Linked DNA regions of Homo sapiens: regions 1, 2 and 3 are each linked to region 4. The links are contacts of gene promoters, found by promoter capture Hi-C in blood cells and fetal thymus (Javierre and others, 2016). All regions are on one chromosome and are shown on one strand. The core of a region is centred on a gene start or on the middle of the fragment in contact, and the rest is flanking DNA. Distances in the headings are between cores, read along the strand shown. Region 1 overlaps LINC02470 (long intergenic non-protein coding RNA 2470). Region 2 overlaps CLEC2A (C-type lectin domain family 2 member A). Region 3 holds the start of CLEC2B (C-type lectin domain family 2 member B). Region 4 holds the start of CLECL1 (C-type lectin like 1).

What was found. Contacts are between HindIII fragments. The CHiCAGO score rates a contact against its expected background, and 5 or more counts as called.
Region 1: a contact is called between a fragment that was not itself captured here and the fragment with the promoter of CLECL1 in region 4, in 1 of 17 cell types (activated CD4 T cells). The highest score is 5.1, in activated CD4 T cells.
Region 2: a contact is called between a fragment that was not itself captured here and the fragment with the promoter of CLECL1 in region 4, in 1 of 17 cell types (activated CD4 T cells). The highest score is 5.4, in activated CD4 T cells.
Region 3: a contact is called between the fragment with the promoter of CLEC2B here and the fragment with the promoter of CLECL1 in region 4, in 7 of 17 cell types (monocytes, non-activated CD4 T cells, activated CD4 T cells and 4 more). The highest score is 7.6, in monocytes.

The regions. Positions count from the first base shown.
Region 1 is chr12:9,936,828-9,939,578 of GRCh38, reverse strand. LINC02470 (long intergenic non-protein coding RNA 2470) reads left to right here. Exons shown (of 5, transcript NR_104634.2): 4 at 409-516. Among named protein-coding and RNA genes, the nearest start is that of LINC02470, 5.3 kb to the left of the region's middle. The HindIII fragment of the contact is 6,613 bases long and covers 1-2,751 here.
Region 2 is chr12:9,914,288-9,917,146 of GRCh38, reverse strand. CLEC2A (C-type lectin domain family 2 member A) reads left to right here. Exons shown (of 5, transcript NM_001130711.2): 4 at 344-447. Among named protein-coding and RNA genes, the nearest start is that of CLEC2A, 17 kb to the left of the region's middle. The HindIII fragment of the contact is 6,691 bases long and covers 1-2,859 here.
Region 3 is chr12:9,868,104-9,870,831 of GRCh38, reverse strand. CLEC2B (C-type lectin domain family 2 member B) reads left to right here and starts at 1,478. Exons shown (of 5, transcript NM_005127.3): 1 at 1,478-1,627. The HindIII fragment of the contact is 5,556 bases long and covers 1,364-2,728 here.
Region 4 is chr12:9,731,804-9,734,773 of GRCh38, reverse strand. It overlaps CLECL1 (C-type lectin like 1), which reads left to right and starts at 1,677. Exons shown (of 2, transcript NM_001441815.1): 1 at 1,677-1,825. The coding sequence starts at 1,744. The HindIII fragment of the contact is 6,540 bases long and covers 1-2,970 here.

The sequences.
Region 1 (2,751 bases), core at 250-2,749, 200 kb before region 4:
GGAAAATGGCTGGAGCGTGTGTCTTAAGGCCAGTGAATGTCTGGAATATTCAAGGAACAGAAAAGAAGCAGCCAGTCAATCTATCTAAAATGAGGGATTGAGTGAAGAATGCGGATCATTAGGGTCTTGCAGGCTATTGTAAAGAGTTTAGTTTTTGCTCCAAGCAAAATAGGGAGATACTGCCAAATTATGAGGGAAAATGTAATAGGATCTGACTTAAGTTTTAAAAGAATCATAATCTTTGCTGTGATGAGGTTGGCTACTGAGTCTCAAATGTAAACGGAGGGAATCATGTTATACGGCCTTTGCAGTAACTGTGCAAGATAATAATAGACTTAAAGGGCACTGGAGGGAGTGAGAATGAGAAAACTAGAAGAAATCTATGACAGCACTCTGTATTTTGTAAAGGGAATCTTTGATGCATTATCTGGGGCCGTCTTTATATTGGTTTGAACTGAGCAAGCACAATGCAAACAAAACGTGGATGTGGGCAGATGGAGCTACATTCAGCAATTGGTAAGCCTTACTAACATGTATTTACTATTAAATGTGTAAAGCGTGGTAAAGATTCTGAGTCTATAACTGGCTTCCTCCATAGATTCCTCCACATCATCCCCCCAAAAGACCCTCAAAAAATAGATGCCAAAGAGAATATTTAGACAAAGTTACGGTTTTTAGTGAGGGTTTGGCATCACATATCAATATTTATGTATATATATGGAATTGGTATATACCACATGTGAGTCACAAGTGTTCCCTTTATCCTGAACTGGATGCAAGTCTAAGCAGTTTGATCCTTTCCTCTTTGGACCTGGGACCTTGCCTTTTGTTTTTGTTTTTTTTGTTGTTGTTCCTTTGGCCTTTCATTGATGGGAGAGCATTAGAGAGTGTACTGAAGCCTACACTTTCCGCACCCACCAGTGGCCTGACATGCACAAGAGTAAGTTAAGAAGAGAACGTGTTTGCCTCAGTTTACCTTTGTTTAAAATTCAAGAACTTCTTTATATTCCATAGCTTGAAAAAACTCATCATACACTTAGAATCTATTTTGTTCTTAAAACACTTACAAATTTCTCCAACGTCAGGGTGGAGAAGGTCATATAAAGGATATTGAGTTCTCAGTATTCTTTGGTGAACTAAAGGTGACCACTAGCTACCATTTATTGACTGCCCACTTTGTAATAGATACTGGTTCTGTAGCACTCCATGCCAGATATTACATGTTGTATATAATATAATAAAGTTAGTAGCGGAACTTTCTAAAGTTGAGAAAATTCTCTTATGATTATTGTATTTACATTCAATTTGGGGTGAAAATGCACAATGATTTGAGAGGGATAATATACCCAATATTATATTTTATCTTTGAAAAATGTAAAAAAAAAAGACAGATTAAACTTTCTGACTATAAAACATAATATTATATTTTCTTGAAAGAAAATATTAACAGCTTAATGTGGCATTACATATTATATACAGGCCCATCAAAAAATGAGACAGGAGTTAACATTGGTGTATTAATTTGCTAAGTCTGCTGTAATAAATGCCACTGAATGGGTGGCTCAAAGACAGCTCTGGGGGCCGTTAAGTCCAGGATCAAGGTGTTAGTAGGGTTGGTTTCTTTTAAGGCCCTTCTCTTTGGCTTGCAGATGGCTGTCTTCTCACTCTGTGTTCATGTGGCCTTCTGTACACACTCAAGTCTGTGTCTAACTTATTTCTTCTTATAGGGACATCAGTCATATTGGATTAAGGTGCACCCTAAAGACCTTTTCTTACCTCAATCACTTCTTTTTTAAAAAAAACAAATACCTTATCTCCAAATCTGTTACATTCTCAGGTACTGGGAGTTAGGCACTTAATGTATGAAATTTGGGGGCCTATAATTCAGCCCATAACGGTTGTTATTAGTTGGCACTATGGATTGGATAAGCATAAAAATACACATATATTTTGGGAATGGGCAGGATAAAAATTTGAAGTTACCCTAGAAGTTAGGAAAGTGTACACCAGTACTGTGAAGTTCCCCCAAATAATTACAGTATAACCAGAAATGTATCATGATTAACCATCCTGTTTTCCTCCGTTTTGAATTTTGAATTTCACATGTTTATATGTATGGCATAAAATATAAATGTAGGAAATCTTTTCTTTAGATTTTATTTGTTTACTTATGTGTATCGTAATCTATTGAGTAAAGAATACCTGTTTCACTACAGTGATGGTGATAAAGAGTGGCCAAATGTGAACATTTATTTCAGCATTAATAGACCAATTTTGTAATATATGAAAGGTATGTTCAATGAAATGTCAGTTACACTCCCCTTCTTTATAATTTCTAAATGGCTAAACACATTGATATATCAATGTTTATGCTACAGTATAAAGGGAAGAATCCAATCCCTCACAAAATGATTACAATGTTTGCTATAGTATCAACAGCGTAAACTTCCAGGACTGTGTTGTTAGGCACTGAAGTCACATAGTGTCCTTTTCTTCCTGCCATCAGGGTCCTGAGGTAAAATTTGGAGAAAGATAGGAGGAGAGCAACAGCTTGTTTCACTTCCTCTACTCCTTCCACACTGCACGTGTTTTAGAAACCGGGCTAATGAAATTTACGTTCTATTTTCGAGGCTGTGCTCAGTTATTTCTCAGGAGGTCCAGTAAATAAAGAATTAATCTATTTGTTTTGTCTTTAGTCAAGTTATGAAACTAGCGAATTATTTACATTAAGTGGATTTGTTGTTGCTGTCG
Region 2 (2,859 bases), core at 348-2,847, 180 kb before region 4:
TAATAGATTTCATTGCAGTAAATTATATTTATATAGAAGTTAGTTTTATCTCTGATTATATGAAAAAACATACAATATCAGTGACATTCATACTAAAGGGTATCAATGACTTGGTTGTAGCCCAATTATCTGGAGATACTTAAGATGCAAAAAAGCAAAATGAAAATCTTTCTGATAAAACTAACCCAAACATCAACATCTGTGCTGTTTGTTGTTATAGAAGCATCAGGGAAGACAAATTAGAATGTGAATCCTAAAAGATAGAATAATTGGGGTGGGAAGCATGTTCAGCAATGTGCTGTAACATATTAAGTAATCGCTGATTCCCTTTGTTTTGTGAAAGGAATTTTTGAAGAGGTACGCAGGAACTGATATGCACTGGATTGGACTAAGCAGGAAACAAGGAGATTCTTGGAAATGGACAAATGGCACCACATTCAATGGTTGGTGAGTTTCCAATGTATTAGCAATGTTCTTATTCTGGTGTGTCATATGAAAAATTTTAAATCATTTTGAGTTGTATTATTATAAACAAATCTTTCTGTTTTCCATGTGGAATTAACTTTTCAGTCTCCAATCGATGACATATGCCCTTTCACATTGAAGCATATCCTAGAGCAACCCATTTTCTTCTCACCTTGTTAAATGACACATGGTGAAATCTTCCATTTTTATTTTTATTTGTTATTTTATCTTTATTATCAAGCTCTTGCTTGACAATTAGTTCTCTTTTGCTAATTCAAATTTAATCATTCTGCAAATTTTAAGCCAAAACTCACGTATTACTTGTACTTCTTTCCAAGTAAAGTGTATATAAGATTTCTTTGTCTTTAAAGGGTTAAAGACTTTATAGTTGTCTTTAACATTCCAAATGCCCACCACAATGAATACTACTTGTTTTTATTTATTTGTTGCTTATTTTATTTATTTTTATTTCTGTAAGCATTTCCTGGGTGGGTTAAAATTGTTAAAAGTGTTTCTTGGGTTAAAATGGTTGAGGATTGTATAGTTGTCTTTAGCTTTCCAAATGTTCATCATAAGCAATATTATATTTATTTTTTTAATTTTTGTTTATTTTTTATTTAGCTTACTTTTTTATTTATATAATTGTTTCTTGGATACATATGTATCTCTGCCTTATTATTTTAGTAACGTGCTAGATTAAAAAAAGCAACCAATAAAACAAATATTGAAATATGCAAGACAGGACAAATTATACTTATAAATAAGGAAAGATTTGTTTATCAACAAAGAAAATTAATTAAAAAATATATTTTTATTTTACTGTAAGTTCTGGGATACAAATGCAAAATGTGTAGGTTTGTTACATAGGTATGTGTGTGCCATGGTGGATTGTTGCACCTACCAATCCATCATCTAGGTTTGAAGCTCCACATGCATTAGCTGTTTGTCCTAATGCTCTTCCTCCCCTTTCTCCCACCCCCTACTGCCCCCAGTGTGTGTTGTTGCCCTTTCTGTGTCCATGTGTTCTCACTGTTCAACTCTCACTTATGAGTGAGAACATGCAGTGTTTGGTTTTCTGTTCCTGTGTTAGTTTGCTGAGGATGACAGTTTCCAGATTCATCCATGTCCCTGCAAAGAACATGGACTCATTCTTTTTTATGGTTGAACAGTATTCCATGGTGTATATGTACCACATTTTTTTTTAACCAGTCTATCTTTGATAGCCCTTTGGGTTGATTCCATGTTTTTGCTATTGTAAATAGTTCTGCAATAAACATATGTGTGCATATGTCTTTATAATAGAATTACTTATATTCCTTTGGGTATATATCCAGTAATGGGATTGCTGGGTTAAATGGTATTTCTGGTTCTAGATCCTTGAGGAATCACCACACTGTCTTCTACGATGGTTGAACTAATTTACACTCCCACCAGCAGTGTATAAGCATTCCTATCTCGCCACAGCCTCACCAGCATCTTTAGTTTTTTGACTTTTTAATAATTGCCATTCTGATTGGCATGAGATGGTATCTCATTATTGTTTTGATTTGCATTTCTCTAAAGATCAGTGACGTTGAGCTTTTTTTTTCAAATGTTTGTTGGCTGCATAAATGTCTTCTTTTGAGAGTTGTCTGTTCATATCCTTTGCCTACTTTTTGATGTTTTTTTTCTTATAAATTTATTTAAGTTCCTTGTAGATCCTGGATATTAGACCTTTGACAGATGGGTAGATTGCAAAAATTTTATCCCATTCTGTTAGTTGCTTGTTTACTCTGATGATAGTTTCTTTTGCTGTGCAGAAGCTCTTTAGTTTAATTAGATCCCATATGTCAGTTTTGGCTTTTGTTGCTTTTGACGTTTTCATCATGAAGTCTTTGCCCATGCCTATGTCCTGAATGATATTGCCTAGATTTTTTTCTAGGGGTTTTATGGTTTGGGGTTTTACATTTAAGTCTTTAATCCATCTTGAGTTAATTTTTGTATAAGGTGTAAGGAAGGGGTCCAGTTTCAGTTTTCTGTGTATGGATAGCCAGTTTTCCCAGCGCCATTTATTAAATAGAGAATCCTTCCCCCATTGCTTGTTTTTGTCAGGTTTGTCAAAGTTCAGATGGTTGTAGATGTGTGGCATTATTTCTGAGGTCTCTATTCTGTTCCATTGGTCTGTATGTCTGTTTTGGTACCAGTACCATGCTGTTTTGGTTACTGTAGCCTTGTAGCATGGTTTGAAGTCAGGTAGCATGATGCCTCCAGCTTTGCTCTTTTTGTTTAGGATTGTCTTGGCTATATGGGCTCTTTTTTGGTTTCATATGAAATTTAAAGTAGTTTTCTTCTAATTCTGTGGAGAATGTCAAAGGTAGTTTGATGGGTATTGCATTGGATCTTTAAATTACTTTG
Region 3 (2,728 bases), core at 229-2,728, 140 kb before region 4:
TTTTGCATAAATGTTTATTTTGACCTTATGATATCCAAGAAGTGGAAAAAGCTCAATGTCATAATGGATACATTTTATTATAAAATAGATAAAAATATTTTATGTCTGTACAATGAAATACTACTCAGTAATAAAAAGAAATTAACTGCTGATCTGTGCAAAAACATGGATAAAACTCAAAAACATTATGCTCAGTGAAAGACATCAGACTTACAAGAATTGCCAACTGTATCATTCTGCTTAACAGGAATTTCTAAAACCAGCAAAGCTCATGTTTATTGACAGTAAGTTGGCTGCTGCCTGGCTTCAGGGGTGAGGATGAACTGCAAAGCAACAGCGGGGAACATTTCCCTGTGTTGAAAATGTTTTATATCTTAACTGTTGTATCTTGACTGTTTTCCTTTTTGGAACAAAACTAAATTTCACTCAACCATACTTGAGTAATCTCTATATTTTTCTATACATGCTTTTCTAATAGTTCTTTGGATACAATCTTTTGTTAACAACAAAGGTAGAATATATTCATTTCCTCATGAATTTTCTGTCTTTTTTTTCTGTCCAAAAATGAAAAGAGCAATTTTGTTATCTGTCCTTTCCTTCTGCCCAGAAATGATTAAACCTGTATTTCTTATTCTCTTCATATTTTCTTTGTTTTAATTCCTTTGTACTACAGTTTCTTCTCTATTCTCATTTGCTTTTCCTCTTCAAGTTTCTCTCTCAGAACAAATGCAGTGTTAATCCCGAAGCCGCTTGCGGGACACTGGCTTCTTCTCCTCAGTTTCCTCCCTAATATATTTGTTGAGGGGTAATACAAAATCACTGGGAAACTGATTAGAGCAGATTTGAAGACAAAATTGTGGCCTGGTAACTTAGCAAAAGCATAATGGTGTCATCTTGTATGCTGATGATAACGTTCTGGGCACTTTGTTACTTTCGTTTTCTTTTTTCCCTCTGTGTGTCTTTGTGTGTGTTTGTGTGTGTGCTCACACCCACACGTGTGACTTTGCACGCATTTGTCTTTGAGAGAGAGATAATAGTTTTTGTTTTTCTTTCAGTAGCCAAAGTTTAAACCATTGCTTTTTCTTTGATTCTATCGCTTTTAAGGTGATCTTTCTTAACACAGGATAAGAAAGCAGTAATGTCCTAAAGAATGCTGTTGAATTAATTAGTATCAGCCTCTCCTACAGTTCTGGAAGGATACGTGGTTAAGTACCACTCCTGGATGAATCAGAAAAACAGCCACTTGAGCAATTTCGTGTTCTGTGGTTCAGATGAGAATCCCAGTTGAGAAAGTAAGAAAATATGTGTTTATTCTTCAGCTTTAAATTGTTATATCACAAACTTCCTTCCTCCTTGGCAAGCTTTCTTTTTTGACGAGAAGAAAATTGTAATAAACAACAGTATGACTAATAGATAGTCACATGGTTACTTCCAGTTTGCAAAATGCTATTTATACTTTGAGTTACTCTTCAAAAGTGGTATACCTCTAGTTTGGAGCTGTGCTGTAAAAACAAGAGTAACATTTTTATATTAAAGTTAAATAAAGTTACAACTTTGAAGAGAGTTTCTGCAAGACATGACACAAAGCTGCTAGCAGAAAATCAAAACGCTGATTAAAAGAAGCACGGTAAGAACATTTTTGTTTGTTTAGAATGACCGTTATTTATTGAAATTGTGATGCAGAATGTTAAAGCCTTCGAGAAAAGAATTAAATTTTGTGGTTTCTTTTGTGAAACTAGAAAATTCCTTCTTATAACAAGATTGAGATTTGCATATGACTGTTTTGTCCTAATAAATTCAGACTTACTTTACATTATTTGAATTACAATGGAGAAGGATTAACCATGACTTAAAACTGCTCAAGATTTAGTTTCATTTTTACTAAGTATTTTATAAAACAAATACTTGAGAAGATGATAGATATGATCCAGATACTCATACAGTTCTCAGAATGCATACATAATATGATAAATTTAGCCAATAGTTCTAATATTTTTAAAGATTGCTTTATTGGATGGTGTAAAGATACTCCGGGCTTTAGGAGTACTTAACGGAAAGAATATATCCCTTTCCTACTCTTACTAAGGAATTGCTAGTACTCCGATATCCATGGAGATGTCTTTACCAACCCTAAGAAGGATAAGGAAAGAAAATGTTCTAAAAAATACACTATGAAACAACCTGGTAACATTGGATTTATTAAATAGCAAGTTCGGAATATATAAGATCCAAGCTACATCTTTGAGATTTCAACAGGGTTTATTTATGTCAAAATATTTGAAAGAGAAAAGGCTGAAACTAAATGCATTCAATACAACGATCTATGATTTAGAGATTTAGGGACTGTGATGAGCTTTAAGCATTTCCCGTTTAACTAAATGTCAACCTACCAGCGTATGCTACGGTCAAAAAAATTATTGCTGTGGTACAATAGAATGCACACTTTATCCTTCCTCCCGTATTTTAACCGGTTTTATAATTCTGCCTAAAGTTAGATAAAACAGGTTTGCGGGGAATGAGATCAATATTTGATGGTAGCATAAAATATCATTTTAATCAAAAGTTTTAAGAAGGCCTTCCAGCCACTAGTAAAACCAGTGTTATTTTCTACTTTCAATCAATTGTATAAATTTATACATTTGTATATAAATACATTATATAATACAATATTATATATCATATTACATATGAATATATTTTAAAAGTTACTGAATAATATATTCAGTAT
Region 4 (2,970 bases), core at 428-2,927:
TCTAGACAGCATAGTTGAATTATGGCATGGACTTAGAACTCAGTTATCACTCTTAAAATGTACTGGTTATGCCTTTGGGAGGCTGAGGCGGGCAGATCACGAGGTCAGGAGATCGAGACCACCGTGAAACTCGTCTCTACTAAAAATACAAAATATTAGCCGGGCGTGGTGGCGGGCGCCTGTAGTCCCAGCTACTCGGGAGGCTGAGGCAGGAGAATGGCATGAACCCGGGAGGCAGAGCTTGCAGTGAGCCGAGATCGCGCCACTGCACTCCAGCCTGGGTGACAGAGTGAGACTCCGTCTCAAAAAAAAAAAAATTATTGGTTATGCAACCACCTGCAGATAATAAAACCTCTAAAAGTCAGTTTTTCATGTATGTAGTAGGTATTGTCTAGTCACATACAAACAGTTGGAACAGCCCAGAAAAGGGAGAGAGTGTCATGCAGTCTTAAGAGACAGAGGTCGGTGCTCAAGCCTCATCCAGGGTCAGAAGTTGGTCTTTATAGGAGGGATCCCTAAATGCCACAAAGCCAGGATCTGTTCTCTAGTTATTTAATTAACCTAAGTTAAATTTCTTGGATGAGGGGTAGGGATGGGGTGACTGCAGTTTAGATTAATTCTGCAGAATGCACTTGAGTGGGTATTGAAAAAACCAGTTTTTCCATATGCAGATTTCCAGTTAATCTACTAGTCATAAGCTAATGGATCCTGCCATTTTTCATATCTGACATTTCTATGTCCTATGACGGTTTCACAGGTAGCTAGGCTCTCCTCCATTATTTCCCTCTGTATGGTGTTGGCTGCATTTTTCTCTGATTTTACTTCTTCATCAATGATCACATCTCCATCTACTCTCCATTTTCCAGGAATTAGTTGAAATTTTTCATCAACTAATAGGACCCTGAGCCTTTGTGTTATTGTTTTAGACTAACAAATTTTTATTCACTTAATTCAATTTTAGTGGAATTTTAGAAGAAATAGGAGATAAAATCTATGTTTGCTATGTTGTATTCGATAGTAAATTTCTGAACACCTCATTTTAAAATTAGATTTTTTTCTTTTATGTCATTACCTTGAATTATTTTAACAGAGTTATTTCTGTTTCTTAAATATATATTTTTTAGTTCAGAAGTCCTCTGCATAATTCATGTTTTACCTCAGTTTAATGTTAATATTATAAAGCATACAGGAAAGCAAATAGCTTTCAGAATTTTTAAGGTATTATCTAGACAATACAATGCATTTAGAGAGGAGGATAAAAGACATAGGGCCCCTTTCTGTAACTTTCGTAATAAAATCCCTTCTTTTTCTTGTTCTGTTTCCCAAATAGCTATCCTACTTTGGAGAAGATGCTGGAAATTCAGAGTTTCCGCCAGAGAATATATGCCTGAACTAAAAGAGGAAGTGGTCTATAGGAGAAAATGGTGAGATATCTTCTGTGGTATTAATAAAAGTTAAAAGCATTTCAAGTTTAGGCAGAAAACTAACTGAAAAACGAGAACCTACTGTATGGTTAGTAATTTCTTCCATGTCATACAAGTATTCGAGAAATCTGCTACCTTGATTAGTAAGACTGAACACATTGGTTTTGTCATTTATTCATGGAGGAAGTCCACCACCCACTTGGGGAGCAGAAGGAAATTTGCCATCTCAATTTACTTATCAGAAGTTTCTTTGCAGAAATATGATTGTCCCTTCAGTGGGACATCATTTGTGGTCTTCTCTCTCTTTTTGATCTGTGCAATGGCTGGAGATGTAGTCTACGCTGACATCAAAACTGTTCGGACTTCCCCGTTAGAACTCGCGTTTCCACTTCAGAGATCTGGTAAGCTGGATTTAGGGTGCCTTTGAGAATTAAGATTTTACTAGTTATCTCCTTTATTTCTTTCTTATGTATCTAATTGCCAAACTGAAAAGAGGAGATTGGATTCAAAGCAAAATTCATTGAATGCTAAGAATAAGAGCGAATGTTTTTAATGAAGCAAAATGTCTGTTCATAAAATAAATTGCCACTTTGGTTTTAATATGTAGAACTTTGCTTCTGTTTTCATAGCCTTTCTATTTCTTGATTTCTCGTGATGAATGTTTATATTCACACAGCAACTTCTAGCGGGATCACGCCTTTCTGCTCCACAGCTTTGCTCACTCTCAATCAAATCTGACCTTTTAACATAATGTGATAAATTCATCTCCACTGGGAAAAATACCTGTGGCAATTTACTCATATTGTTATTTATTCTTTTACAATATCAATAGGATAAAAATGTAAACTTAAGAAAACATGAAACGTTAGATTTAATTTTATAAAGTCTAGAATTAATGACTAGGTAATTGAATATTTCTGGAATCAGAGGCGATAAGCATATGCCTAAACTTAACATGGTGCCTTCATCACCAAACCCCCTCAAAAATTATAGATTTTCATAGCCAGTGTCTTTTCTATTCTTTGAAGTATTAAGGAAATTTCTCTGTCTTGTTACATTTCCATTCTCTGCTCTAGGGTAAGAATTTTTGTAGCATAGAGTTTATGTAGGTGTTTTAAATAATTTAAAGTTCCTCCTTTGTATTTGCCCTTGTGGAATGAATCTGCTACTTTGTTCGTATTTCCAAGGAATGTATTTCTTCTTTATATTTTCAAAAGTTTATAGTTATCAAAGGAATCTAGTGTGTGTCCTTTTCTGGTTGTAAAAGCATCTTGTTTCTTATTTTAAACCTTACCTCTCTATTTTACCCAGCAGAGGCTAACTTGCTTTCTTTTCTTCCAGCTTAGGCACTTTCACTTCCTATGAAATAGTGAAACATAATTTGAAAAATAACATGGACTAGAACTGCACTGTCATTCCCCTATGCTTCAAAAATGTCCTGTAGTTAGTTTCTTTTTCTAGAGGTTATTTTACTCAGTTTAAGCAACAAAACCAATATTTTTGATTCCGCATTCCAGGGTTTAATTGCCTTTCTGTCTATGGTTTG